4 separate regions of the Homo sapiens genome follow, and regions 2, 3 and 4 are each linked to region 1. The links are contacts of gene promoters, found by promoter capture Hi-C in human tissues and cell types (Jung and others, 2019). All regions are on one chromosome and are shown on one strand. The core of a region is centred on a gene start or on the middle of the fragment in contact, and the rest is flanking DNA. Distances in the headings are between cores, read along the strand shown.

Evidence for each region. Contacts are between HindIII fragments. The study calls those that stand out against the background at their distance.
Region 2: a contact is called between a fragment that was not itself captured here and the fragment with the promoter of PALM3 in region 1, in 1 of the 25 tissues and cell types used here (dorsolateral prefrontal cortex).
Region 3: the fragment with the promoter of ZSWIM4 here is called in contact with the fragment with the promoter of PALM3 in region 1 in 2 of the 25 tissues and cell types used here (dorsolateral prefrontal cortex and spleen).
Region 4: a contact is called between a fragment that was not itself captured here and the fragment with the promoter of PALM3 in region 1, in 1 of the 25 tissues and cell types used here (spleen).

Annotation. Positions count from the first base shown.
Region 1 is chr19:14,060,794-14,064,045 of GRCh38, forward strand. It overlaps PALM3 (paralemmin 3), which reads right to left and starts at 1,283. Exons shown (of 7, transcript NM_001145028.2): 1 at 1,147-1,283. The coding sequence starts at 1,187. RefSeq lists an enhancer at 1,224-1,778. The HindIII fragment of the contact is 26,422 bases long and covers 1-3,252 here.
Region 2 is chr19:13,714,417-13,717,678 of GRCh38, forward strand. It overlaps LOC105372284 (a long non-coding RNA gene), which reads right to left. Exons shown (of 7, transcript XR_001754028.1): 2 at 2,760-2,823; 3 at 1-17. Among named protein-coding and RNA genes, the nearest start is that of YJU2B, 32 kb to the right of the region's middle. The HindIII fragment of the contact is 3,426 bases long and covers 1-3,052 here.
Region 3 is chr19:13,793,044-13,796,692 of GRCh38, forward strand. ZSWIM4 (zinc finger SWIM-type containing 4) reads left to right here and starts at 2,400. Exons shown (of 14, transcript NM_001367834.3): 1 at 2,400-2,758. The coding sequence starts at 2,606. RefSeq lists silencers at 2,034-2,523, 2,544-2,753 and an enhancer at 2,994-3,063. The HindIII fragment of the contact is 5,751 bases long and covers 26-3,649 here.
Region 4 is chr19:14,382,615-14,386,313 of GRCh38, forward strand. All of the region lies in intron 1 of ADGRE5 (adhesion G protein-coupled receptor E5), which reads left to right. Among named protein-coding and RNA genes, the nearest start is that of ADGRE5, 3.0 kb to the left of the region's middle. RefSeq lists a silencer at 179-318. The HindIII fragment of the contact is 5,608 bases long and covers 1-3,699 here.

The sequences.
Region 1 (3,252 bases), core at 33-2,532:
TCTGTCACCCAGGCTGGAGTGCAATGGCTCAATCTCAGCTCACTGCAACCCCCGCTTCCTGGGTTCAAGTGATTCTCCTGCCTCAGCCTCCTGAGTAGCTGAGATTACAGGCGTGCACCACCAAGCCCGGCTAATTTTTGTATTTTTAGTACAGATGGGGTTTCACCATACTGGCCAGGCTGGTCTCGAACTCCTGACCTCAGGTGATCTGCCCGCCTCGGCCTCCCAAAGTGCTGGGATTACAGGCGTGAGCCACCGTGCCCGGCCACGAAGTCATGCTTTGCAAGATATCCCAAAGGAAGCCCAGATTCTGTGCTTATAGGTTTGCCCCTGGGGGAGGGCTGAAGTCCCGTGGTCTCCTGTACCACCCCCAAGATGTAATCTCCCTGCCTCTTCCTTGCTGGGGGGGATCGGGTTCCCATTGCTAAGCAACCAGGTTTGTAGTTGGTGAATAATGCAATGGAGGACCTAGAAGGGTGAGGAACCGAATTGGGGTCCCTAGTGTGGGGGGAAGCCCCTTTTCCAAAACTCTTTCCAAACCTCTGAAGCCCCCTCTACCCTTTTAACCTTAAAAAACTCTCACCCCTCAGCTATGAAAAGACTTCACACACCCCATTCCATCTTGCTTATCTCTAACTAACTCTGGAAGAACAACGTAGGCGGCCTGGGCTTCTGGCCACCCGCAAGAGTTGGTGGCCATTTCATGAAGGAGGTCATCCTTGCAATGTTGCCATTGTCTTTCTCAGGCTGGGAGCTTTTAACTTCTGTTGGATCTCAAGCCTTTTCTCCCACCTTGGACACTGACTTTAGGGGCAAAACGTGGAACCCAGTGACCCTGACCTTCCCCACTCCCTGCACCACAGCAGTAGCCCCACCCCCTGGCTGGACTTTGGGTTCTCAGCCCTGGCAGCGGAAAATCCCCGAAGAGGAAGGGGCAGGGGGAGCCTATATCTCTCTCCCACCCCTTGACTCTTTAAGGAAGGGTGACACTGATGAGCCTATGGGGTTGGCTAGCCAACCCCTCCACTCCCCGGGTCCCCTTAGGAGAGACCACTGGAGCTCTCGGCTCCCAGACAAGGCCAGCATCCCCCATGAGCCCCTCCCAAGGCCCTGCCCACCAGCCCCCCTGACCCCCCAGACACTTACATGGGTGTGGCCAGAGACCACACCTGGCTCTGCAGGGCCATCTCTGCCCAGAAGTTCACTTTCTGGTCTCCGAGTTCTGGACCCACCACCCGCTTGCCTGAAGGTGCCCCGGAGGCTGTGACTTGGCTGCCTGGAGTGGGGGGGGGCTGCGGGCGGGCACCGGGAGAGCAGGTCCAGCGGGTTTGGGCCAGGGAGGCGGTAGGCACACCAGAGAGGGGGGCTGGGGGCTGGAGGGCAGTTCTGGGGAGGTACTATCAGCTGTCCTGATAAATTATTCACCAGCCTCTGGCCTCTTTGTTGCACTCAGCTGCCTCCCGGAAAACACTTTCACACACGCGTGGTCAAGCGTGGGGGTGAGAGTACTGAGTCGGTGACTCCCCCTGCCACCAGAGAATGGCATTTCTACTTGGCACCCCAATCATCTTGAGTCTGACTGCCTGCCAAGACTCACCCACAGGAGAGCACCATTGCATAGCACACAGGCTGGAGACTGTTTTATTTTTTTAGAGATGGGGGTCTCACTCTGTTGCCCAGGCTAAAATGTAGTAGTGCGATCATAGCTCACTGCAGTTTCAGACTCCGGGGCGCAAACAATCCTCCCTCCTCGGCTTCTCAAAGTGCTGGGATTACAGGCATGAGCCACCACATCTGGCAGATAACATTTTTTAAAATTATTTTTTAAGAACAGGCACAGTGGTGCATATGTGTAATCCTAGCACTTTGGGAGGCCCAGGTGGGTGGATCACCTGAGGGCGGAGTTCGAGACTGGTCTGACCAACATGGTGAAACCCCGTCTCTGCTAAATACAAAAAAAAACTTAGCCGGGCATGGTGGTGCATGCCTGTAACCTCCGCTACTTGGGAGGCTGAGGCAGAAGAATCACTTGAACCCAGGTGGCAGAGGTTGCAGTTAGCCAAGATCGCACCATTGCACTCCAGCCTGGGCAACAAGAGCAAAACTCTGTCTAAAAAAAAAAAAATTACTTTTTGAGCCAGGCACGGTGGCTCACGCCTGTAATCCCAGCACTTTGGGAGGCCGAGGTGGGCGGATCACGAGGTCAGGAGTTTGAGACCAGCCTGGCCAACATGGAGAAAGCCTGCCTCTGCTAAAGATACACATTAGCCAGGTGTGGTGGCACACCTGTAGTCCTAGCTACTCGGGAGGTTGAGGCAGGAGAATTGCTTGTACCCAGGAGGCGGAGATTGCAGGGAGCTGAGATCATGCCACTGCACTCCAGCCTGGGTGACGGAGCAAGACTCCGTCTGAAAAAAAAAAATTACTTTTTGATCGTGGTAAAATACACATAACAAAATTTACCATTAGTGGCATTTAGTATGTTCACAATATTATGCAATCCTCACCACTGGTTCAGAATATTTTCATCAACCCAAAAGGAAGTGATCACTACTCATTCCCCTGCCTCCCGTGCCTGGCAACCACCAATCTGTGTCCATCTCTATGGATTTGCCTATTCTGGACTTTTTGTTTTTCTTTTTTGTTTGTTTGTTTTTTTAGATGGAGCCTCACTCTATCGCCCAGGCTAGAGTGCGATGGGCACAATCTTGGCTCACTGCAACCTCCACCTGCTGGGTTCAAGCAATTTTCCTGCCTCAGCCTCCCAAGTAGCTGGGATTACAGGCACCCGCCATCACGCCCAGCTAATTTTTGTATTCTTGTAGAGACAGGGTTTCACCATGTTGGCCAGGCTGGTCTTGAACTTCTGACCTCAGGTGATCCATCCTCCTTGGCCTCCCAAACTGCTGGGATTACAGGCGTCAGCCACTGTGCCCGGACTATTCTGGATAGTTCTATAAAAATGGACTCACAGGCCGGGCGCAGTGGCTCATGCCTGTAATCCCAGCATTTTGGGAGGCTGAGGTGGGCGGATTACCTGAGGTCAGGAGTTCAAGACCAGCCTGACCAACATGGAGAAACCCTATCTCTACTAAAAATACAAAATTAGCCAGGCATGGTGGTGCATACCTGTAATCTCAGCTACTTGGGAGGCTGAGGCAGGAGAATCACTTGAACCCGGGAGGCGGAGGTTGCGATGAGCCGAGATCACGCCATTGCACTCCAGCCTGGGCAACAAGAGCGAAACTCGGT
Region 2 (3,262 bases), core at 90-2,589, 350 kb before region 1:
GGCATAGCTTTGAATGCCTGTATGAAAAACGAAAAAAAGCTTAAGGTATTGTTATTTCAAGATACTGAGTTTTGGGGTCTCTTTTCTTGTGCAGCAATAGCTGACTGCTATGATAAGTAGCATTTATACTGCATTCATTATGTGGCAGACCCAAGTAAACAGAACCACACAGGTTATGTGAATGGCCAGTAAGGAGTAAAGTCAGAATTCAAATCCAGATTGGCTCTGGCATTAGGCTCTCAGCACTGTGCTATACTTCTCCTAGAGGAGAAACCTAACAATCACGACATTGTGATAAATGCTATTAATTCATAGAAGTGGGTGGACCTAACTCGGAGGATTGGAAAACACTTCCAGAAAGAAGTGATGCTTGACCTGACAGTTAAGAGAAAGTGAAGGCTGTTGAAAAGGTTATGCAGAGGCCCATGGGCATGAACGACATAGCCCATAGTTCAGTGTGGCTGGCCCATACAGTGAGCATGACTTGTGTCAAAAAATGAGAATGAAGATGTAGTCCAGATCTGATTCAAGCCTGTCTAAAGAGGGAGATGATCTGATTAGATTTGCACCTCAGGAAGATCCATCTGTAGTATGTGGAGGATTGGAAGAGAGATATGATGCAAAAATTCCAGTTAAGAGGCCATGAAAGGGCCGGGCACTGTGGCTCACACCTATAATACTAGCACTTTCGAGGGTTGAGGCAGGCAGACCACTTGAGGTCAGGAGTTTGAGACAAGCCTGGCCAACATGGTGAAACCCCAACTCTACTAAAAATACAGAAAAAACTAGCCGGGCGTGGTGGCGGGTGCCTGTAATCCCAGCACTTTGGGAGGCCAAGGCGGGTGGATCACGAGGTCAGGAGATTGAGACCATCCTGGCTAACACGGTGAAACCCCGTCGCTACTAAAAATACAAAAAAAAATAGCCGGGCATGATGGCGGGCGCCTGTAGTCCCAGCTACTCGGAAGGGTGAGGCAGGAGAATGGTGTGAACCCGGGAGGCAGAGCTTGCAGTGAGCTGAGATCACGCCAGTGCACTCCAGCCTGGGCAACAGAGCGAGACTCCGTCTCAAAAAAAAAAAAATACAAAAATTATCTGGGTGTGGTGGTGCACACTTGTAGTCCCAGCTACTTGGGAGGCTGAGGCAGGAGAATTGCTTGAACCTGAGAGGCAGAGGTTGCAGTGAGGTGAGATCGTGCCACTGCACTCCAGCCTGGGCAACAAAGTGAGACCTTGTCTCAAAAAAAAAAAAAAAAAAAAAAAGAGGCCATGAAAGCATTGATAAAGACTCTCTTTTTCTTTCTTTCTTTTTTTTTGGGAAACAAGGTCTCACTCTGTCACCCAGGCTAGAGTGCAGCAGTGATCACAGCGCTCACTGTAACCTCGACCACCAGAGCTGAAGCGATCCTCTTGGCTCAGCCTCTTGAGTAGCTGGGACCACAGGCATGCACTACTATGCCCGCCTAATTTTTTTATTTTTATTTTTATTTTTGGTAGAGATGGGGGTCTCTCTATTTTTCCCAGGCTGGTCTTGAACTCCTAGGGCTCAAGCAAGCTTCACACTAGCCTCCCCAAGTGCTAGGACTGCAGGCATGAGCCACCCATGACTCCTCTTTTCAACTAGGCATCATTCTTGGATCCTGTCCTTAGCCTGCTTCTGTCAGTCTTGGCAAAGAATCCTGCTAAATTATACCCCAATCCTTAATATTTTATCACCCTGGCCAGCCTTCAGCAAGAATCCTTAAGTTAGCATCTTAATCCATTTGGGCTACTCTAACAAAATAACATAGATTGAGTGGCTTAAAAGCAACAGAAATTCATTTCCCACAATTCTAGTGGCTGGGAAGTCCAAGAGCAAGGCACCAGCGCATTCAGTGCCTGCTGAGAATCTGCTTCTTGGTTCATAGATGACCATTTTTTCATTGTGCCCCCACATGGTGGAAGGGTTGAGGGACCTCTCTGGGATCTGTTTGATAGAGGCATTAATCCCATTCCTGAGGGCTCCAGTCCCATAACTTTATCACCTCCCAAAGGCCCTGCCTCCAACACCATCACATTGAGGATTAGGTTTCAATACATGAATTTGGGCCTGGCACAGTAGCTCACGCCTGTAATCTCAGCATTTTGGGAGGCCACGGCAGGTGGATCACCTGAGGTCAAGAGTCCAAGACCAGCCTGGCCAACATGGCAAAAACCTGTCTCTACTAAAACTACAAAAATTAGCTAGGCGTGGTGACATGGGCCTGTAATTCCAGCTACTTGGGAGGCTGAGGCAGGAGAATCACTTGAACCCGGAAAGCGGAAGTTGCAGTAAGCTGAGAATCATGCCACTGCACTCCAGCCTGGGCAACAGGGCGAGACTCCATAAAATTAAAAAAAAAAAAACCAAAAACATGAATTTGAAGGAGACACAAACATTGTCTACAACAATGGTTTGGCAAGAATCCCCCTATCTGCCGAGTGCAGTGGCTCATGCCTGTAATCCCAACACTTTAGGAGGGAAAAGCAGGAAGATTGCTGGAGGCCAGGAGTTCAAGAGCAGCCTGGGCAACATAGTAAGACCCTGTCTCTATTAAAAATAAAAAAGAATCCCCCTATGCTTGATGTTTCCTCTTAGTCATTTTTCACCCACTAAACCCTTCACTCTGCTCATCGGCTGTAAATGCCAATCTGTCTTTGCTGTTTTGGAAACTGAGCTCATTTCTCTGCTGAAGTCTCTTTTCCCCTATTACAATAGTACCGAATAAAACTGTCTTTACCACTTTTAACCGGTGTCCAGCTCTGTCTCTTCGACAGCATCCAGATGAGTCACAAAGACCTGAACTAAAGCATTAGCAGTTAGGATCCATCAAGCATTTCTTTAGGATTTATTGTTTTAAGTCCTCAGATTTTGTCTAAGGCAATGGGAATGTAGCAAGCAGTAAACACAACAGGCAAAAATCCCTGCCCTGGGCCGGGTGAGGTGGCTAACGCCTGTAGAAGTGGCAGAAGTTCCATGCACCCAGACTGCCTCCCACCTCAAGTATCAGCCACAGCAACTCATTTTTCTGCCTCGGAGCTTTTTTGCAGCTATTGAAGGCTGTCTGCGTGCAGATGCTGCCAGAAGTTAGGAAGAGATAAAGCCCCGAGGAGGTAACGCTCAACCAGTGCAGAGTCAATAAATGAATGTGTCACTCCCCACCCTCATCCGCTTGGGGGACTATTCTGACTTTTTTTCTGCACCATTTACTTGCAGGAGTAGCTCAATAATGCACTCTTCATT
Region 3 (3,649 bases), core at 1,150-3,649, 270 kb before region 1:
GTCACAGCCTCCAGAGTAGCTGGGACTACTGGCTTGTGCCACCACGCCCAGCTGATTTTCTTATTTTTTAATAGAGATGGGTTTTCGCCATGTTGCCCATGCTGGTCTCAAACTCCTGGGCTCAAGTGATCTTCCCACCTCACCATCCCAAAGTGCTGGGATTCCAGGCGTGAACCACCGCGCCTGGCCAAAACATTCTTTTTTTTTTTTTTTTGGAGTCTCACTCTGTCCCCCAGGCTGGAGTGCAGTGGCGCAATCTTGGCTCACTGCAACCTCTGCCTCCTGGGTTCCCACCATTCTCCTGCCCTAGCCTCCCTAGTAGCTGGGACTATAGGCGCCTGCCACCATGCCCGGCTAATTTTTTGTATTTTTAGTAGAGAAGGGGTTTCACTGTGTTAGCCAGGATGGAAAACATTCTTAATGAAATATTTTAGGCCGGGCGTGGTGGCTCACGCCTGGAATCCCAGCACTTTGGGAGGCCAAGGCAGGCAGATCATAAGGTCAGGAGTTTGAGACCAGCCTGCCAATATGGTGAAACCCCGTCTCTACTAAAAATGCAAAAGTTAGTCAGGCGTGGCGGTGGGTGCCTGTAGCCCCAGCTACTTGGGAGGCTGAGGCAGAATAATCACGTGAACCTGGGAGGCAGAGGTTGCAGTGAGCTGAGATCACTCCATCTCAAAAAAAAAAAAAGAAATATTTTTCCTTGTTCCCTTCCTGCTATGTCTCCAAAATCCACTCTGTATTTTACCTTTCCAGCACAACCTAATTTCAGCCAGTCCCATTTCAAGGGCTCAGAGACCACTTGTGGCCATTGGTGACCATACTGGACAGTGCAGGTCTGCAGGGGAGTTTAACTAATTGAGGGGGTGGCAGGGAGAGTGGGTGAAGACTGGCCAGAGGGTGCAGCTGTGAGACTCGAAGTTTCTCCAAGAAAAAGCTAGGGCTTCCATATGGATGAGTGGATAATCACTGTTTTTTTTTTTTTTCTGCTGTGCCTATCATTTAACTGAATGGAGGCAAAGCATGTGTTGGTTGGTACATTCAACAAGTTCTAGGTTAAGCGCCTACCTTCCAGGTGCTGCCGGTACAGTAAAGCACAGATGGGACAAACTCCTGCCTCCTGAGGCTCACAGTGGAGAGGGAGAGATTGAAATTAAGCAACTACCAAAGGTGGATCACTTGAGGTCAGGAGTTCAAGACCAGCCTGGCCAACATGGCAAAACTCCGTCTCTACCAAAAATACAAAAATTAGCCGGGCGTGGTGGTGGGCGCCTATAATTTCAGCTATTCGGGAGGCTGAGGCAGGAGAATCACTTGACCCCGGGAGGCGCAGGTTGCAGTGAGCCGAGATCGCACCACTGCACCCCAGCCTGGACGACAAGAGTGAAACTCCGTAAAAAAAAAAAAAAAAAAAAAAAAAAAAACCGCCGAAACAGATAAATAAATGGTAATGGTGAGAAGTATGAGGAAGGAAAAATGCAGGGTCCTCTGAGGACATTGGCAAGGAGCCGGGACGGGAACGGGTGATGGAAGCCATGGCCAGCTTCCAGGCCAGAGACGGTGGCCTACACAAGCTGAGTCAGAAAAAATGCTCAGAGGTGCTGGGGTTTGATTAAGTGTTAGGGTGAACCTCATGGAATTGCCATTTTAACAGGCCAAAAATGGTAAAAAAAAATTAGCAATTTCATATGACCCAAGATAGTATCTAGGGCATGGAAAGGAGGGGCGGGGTACTATACTAGTTTTGAGGCTCAAGGGATGACCTATGAACCCCCTAACCGAGCTTTGTTTCTGGAGAGGGGGTCCGCGGCCCGCATGAGCTCCCTCAGTGAGCCTGCGACCCCTCCGCCCCCACAAGAACCAAAACTTGACCCGGTGCCCAGAGAGGTTGAGTGAGTTTCTCGGGTCGCACAGCTGGGAGGGACGAGGGGCTGAGCCACTGCCAAGGGATCCCGCTGCTCTGTCTCGCTCACCGGCCGGGCTATGTTGATTGTCCCCTCGCGGCGCCCGGAAGCGACCCTCAGTAAACAAAGCCGTGTGTGGGCGCAGCCCCAGAAGCCTGGGGCGCGCAGTCCAGCCCAAGAGAGGCGGGGGAGGAATGTTGTGAATGAACCCCGGGCCCGCCCCGAAACTCCGCATAAGGCCTGGGCCGCGGGGGTCCTCCCACTCTGATTGGCCTCTGGCGCCCCGTGATTGACAGCGCCCCTCGCTGTGCGCTCTGGTTGGGTAAACAAGAAAAGACTGGCATCGCAGTCATCGAGTGAGCAGCGAGGCTTGGACACGGGTCTGGCGGCGCAGCCAATGGCGGGGGAGGGCCGAGGAGGCCGAGGGGGGGCCAATAGGGACAGGCGGTGGGGGCGGGACGACGGCGGAGCTAAAGCGGCGGCTGAAGCAGCTTCATTGTTGTGAAGAGTCTTAAAGGGGCCGCATCACCCTGCCGGCCCGGCGCGGGTCGGGGGTGGGTGCGGTAGGGGTCCCGGGGCGGCCGAGCGCAGAGGACGGACGGGAAGGAGGGCAGGGGGCGCGGGAGCCGGCGAAGCGGAGCGGGCATCGGACCGAGCCCCCCAAAGAGGCCCCGCCCCGGCCCTGGCCCCGGCCGGGCCGGATGGAACCCCCCGCGGCCAAGCGGAGCCGGGGCTGCCCCGCGGGACCCGAGGAGCGCGATGCCGGGGCCGGGGCCGCGCGTGGCCGGGGCCGGCCCGAGGCGCTGCTGGACCTCAGCGCCAAGCGGGTAGCCGAGAGCTGGGCCTTCGAGCAGGTGACCGCGGGGGAAGGGGGCGGGGGCAGGGACGCACCCCCAGCACCTTCCCCACCTGTCTTCTCCTCCCCCACAATCCCCAGACTCCAGAGCTAACCCAATCAGAGACACCCCCTGAGATTCCACCCCCAGGACCCTTAACCCTGCCTGGAAACACCCCCTCATCCTCCTGTTTCTGTCCTTCAAACCCAGTAACCCACCCCCATCCCTTCTCTGCCATCTCTGCCCCTCAGCGCCCCAGATCCCAAATCAGGACACTTCCTTCTTCTCCTACCAACCCCAGATCTCTGAGATCTGGCCCCCATGGCCCGCCTACAACCCTGGGCACCCCTCTTTTCCCGCCTTATCCCCCAACGGTACCCCTCTTTTCCCACCTTATCCCCCAACGGTACCCCTCTTTTCCCACCTTATCCCCCAACGGTACCCCTCTTTTCCTACCGCATCTTTATTCGCCAATCAGGGCACCCCATTCAGTCTTCAATCCTCTCTTCGGCCCCCCGCTTGGGGACACCCTGTCTCCCTCCATCGTAGCCTCTAGAGACTCACACTACCCCATTCCTGCTCTCCAGATCCCTACCGTACACCCCAAGTAAATAACTCCCCCATCTCTCCAGATTCCAGCTCAAGACACCCCTTTTTTCCCCATTCATTCCTGCCCTCGAGCCTCCAGATTCCACCTGTTCCTTGGGGACCCCTCTCTACTCCTCCAGATTCCTCTTTCGGGGCTGCCCGTCTTCTCCTGGCTTGCCGCAGGGATTACTGAAATGCCAGGGTCCCTCCTCCTCCCCACCTCATCCCCCTGACCTATCCTATCTCTTCCCATAGGAAAACAGCAGGGGCGGAGCCTGGGTGGTGGTCCCTGGACAGGTGCACCTAGAAGCTCTCTTCTGT
Region 4 (3,699 bases), core at 107-2,606, 320 kb after region 1:
CACTTTGAGAGGCCGAGGCAGGTGGATCTCTTGAGCCCAGGGACTGGAGACTAGCCTGGGCAACACATCGAGACGTTGTCTCTACCAAAAACAAATTTTTTTTTTTTTTTTTGAGACAAAGTCTCGCTCTTGTCGCTCAGGCTGGAGTGCAATGGTGCAATCTCGGCTCACTGCAACCTCCGCCTCCTGGGTTCAAGCGATTCTCCTGCCTCGCCCCCATCCACCCCGAGTAGCTGGGATTATAGGTGCCTGCCACCATGCCCGGCTAGTTTTTTGTTTTAGTTTTTGTGTTTGTATTTTTAGTAGAGACGGGGTTTCACCATGATGGCCAGGCTGGTCTCAAACTCCTGACCTCAGGTGATTCACCCGCCTCCGCCTCCCAAAGTGCTGGGATTACAGGCATGAGCCACCGCGCCCAGCCAAAAAAAATTTTTTTTAATTAGTCGGGCTTGGTGGTGTGCGCCTGTAGTCCTAGTGGCTCAGGAGGCTGAGGTGGGAGGATCCCTTGAGCCCAGGAGGTTGAAGCTGCAGTGAGCTGTGTTTGCACCACTGCACTCCAGCCTGGGTGACAGAGCAAGATCCTATCTCAAAAAATAAATTAATAATAAGGCCGGGTGCAGTGGCTCACACCTGTAATCCCAGCACTTTGGTAGGCCCAGGCCAGCAGATCACCAGAGGTCAGGAGTTCGAGACCAGCCTGGCCAACATGGTGAAACTCTGTCTTTACTAAAAATACAAAAATTACCTGGGTGTGGTGGCGGGCGCCTGTAATCCCAGCTACTCGGGAGCCTGAGGTAGGAGAGTCTCTTGAACCTGGGAGGTGGAGGTTGCAGTGAGCTGAGATCACGCCACTGCACTCCAGCCTGGGTGACAGTGAGACCCTGTCTCAAAATAAATGAATAAATAATAAATTATGATGATTATTAAATTCTGGTAAGACACTAGTGGGTCTGGGGAATTGTCTCGGGGTCCTTAGGAGGAAGCCTAAAGAAGGGGTGACTGCCCCACCACCCCCCACCCCAGGATCTCAATGCAGGAAACTGACTACTTAGGGCTCAGCCCAGAGAATGCAAACCAGAAGGAACTCAAACCAGAACAGCAGCTTCTCTCCCGGCTTCTGTTTGGGCAACTTCCAAGGCCCCAGATGGAGGCAGCTGGGCCCTGTAGCCTCACGGTGGGAGTAGAGAACCCAGCTCAGCCCATGCAGAGGGGATGGGGCACAAAGGAACCCTGCCCAGGGCCCTGAGGACCTCAATCCCTCAATTCCTCCTTCCCCAACCTCTTCTGTTTATTGGATTCCTCCTGATCCTTTTCTGGGCTCCAAGCCTCAGTTTCTCTATCTGTAGAATGGGCATCAACACAGCCCCTGCCTCCTAGAGTGGTTCTGAGCTTTAAAGGAGTTACCTGGGGCTTTGGGAGTTAGAGATGAATCTGCCTAGATCCTGTCCTGCCAGGGGAGGTCATTTTGTGGTCTGTTCTGCAAAGAGGAACTGGGTTCTGGCCGAGGGAGGAACTAGCCAAGCCTTGTGGCCAGAGAGGAGGAAGAGGGGAATCCTGACAGAAGTGGGGAGTACGGGCTTGGGCTGGGGGGTTTCGGCCTTGGTTTAACCCAGCTGGAAGGAGTGTGGAGGTGGGAGTGGGGATCTCTGCCTTCCACCCACCTAAGGGGTACTAAATTTGAACACAGTGGCTGAGTGGTCCGGGGACCTCCAATCTGCACCCCAAACACCCGCCCTCTGAAGCTGTGCTCATAACAGACCCCAAAATTCCCCTGGAAGCCCCTCCAGGGTTGAATTGGGGCAAATGAGTGGTGAGTCATTCCTTCCCTTAGGCCCAGGAAGTGACTCATGCCCAGCCGTTGTCCTGGTCCCCATCCCTCTGCCCGACACCCCCCTTCAGGTCTCCCTGGATTATTGGGGTCCCCAGTATTCCCAGATCGGCAGGGACTGGACGTCCCCTCCCAGCCCGCCCCAGGCCCCACCTGCCGCTCATATCCCAACGCCCTCCGTTCCCCTGCCCTTCCCCTCTGTTTCCATCCACCCTCCTTTCTCATGGTTTTCTTTCTTCCTCACTGTTTATCTCTCTGTCTCTCTGTTCTCTCTGTCCCATCTCCTCCTGTTTCCCCTTCTGCTCTTTATGGGCCCCTTGTTTCTCTCTCCACCTCTCTCTATCACCATGTAATTTCTGTCTCTCTGTCTGTCTCTATCTCTCCGTGTCTCTGTCTCCTCTGTCTTATATTTCTCTAGCTGTCTTCTTTCTCCTCTCTGTCTCCCTCTCTCTCTCCAGCTTGTCTCCTTTCTCCTCTCTGTCTCCGTCTCTGTCCCTCTATCTCTCTGTCTCTCTCTCTCTTTGTTCTTTTCTTTTCTTTCTTTTTTTTTTTTTTGAGACTCTTGCTCTTTTTTTTTTTTTTTTTTTTTTGAGAGTCTTGCTCTGTTGCCCAGGCTGGCGTGCAGTGGCGGGATCTCAGCTCACTGCAACCTCTGCCTTCTGTGTTCAAGCGATTCTCCTGCCTCCACCTCCCAAATAGCTGGGATTACAGGCGTGTGCCACCATGCCCGGCTAATTTTTTGTATTTTTAGTAGAGATGGGGTTTCACTATGTTGGCCAGGCTGGTCTCACACTCCTGGCCTCAGGTGATCCATCTGCCTCGGCCTCCCAAAGTGCTGGGATTACAGGCGTGAACCACCAAGCACAGCCCCCCACCTTCTGTCTCTCTGTCTCTTTGTGTCTCTGTCTCTCTTTCTGTGTCTCTCTTTCTTTCTGACTCTTTCTCTCTCTCTGTCTGTCTCTCTCTCTCTCTAATCTCTATTTTCTCTCCACCCCTGCTTCTTTGTCTCTATCTCTCTGGTGAACAGCAAGGAGATCCCTAGGTCCCCATCTCTGAATCCCCTGGTGACCTGAGGAGGGTCCCCCAGAACATGCCTTGGGAGGGGGAACCCCCTGAGTGCTGGGAACCGCCACTCCACGTGCACCCCAACAGGCGGCTACAGCGTCTTCCTGTGGGAGGGGGGCCCGGGGGTGAAATATCACCACTGGGTTCCAGGACAGACCGCCAGGGCCAGTGGCAGTTGTGGGTGTGGTGTGTGTGCACCTGTGTCCCTGAGGAAGCGTGGAGGTCCAGGGCATCTCAGAGCCTGGGTGATCCAACACCGTCATTTTTTTTTTTTTTTTTCTGAGACGGAGTCTTGCTCTGTCACTCAGGCTGGAGTGCAGTGGCGTGATCTTGGCTTGCTGCAACTCTGCCTCCTTAGTTCAAGCGATTCTCAAGCCTCAGTCTCCCAAGTAGCTGGGATAACAGGCACCCACCACCACGCCCAGCTAATTTTTTGTATTTTCAGTAGAGAGGGGGTTTCACCATATTAGGCAGGCTGGTCTCGAACTCCCGATCTCAAGTGATCCACCCGCCTCGGCCTCCCAAAGTGCTGGGATTACAGGCATGAGCCACTGTGCCTGACCACGCCTTCATTTTTACCTAAAGAAATGAAGATGGCAGGCAGGGCCTGGCGGCTTGTGCCAGCACTTTGGGAGGCCAAGGCAGGTGGATCACGAGGTCAGGAGATCGAAACCATCCTGGCTAACATGGTGAAACCCCTTCTCTACTAAAAATATAAAAAGTTAGCCAGGCGTGGTGGTGGGCGCCAGTAGTTCCAGCTACTCTGGAGGCTGAGGCAGGAGAATGGCGTGAACCCGGGAGGTGGA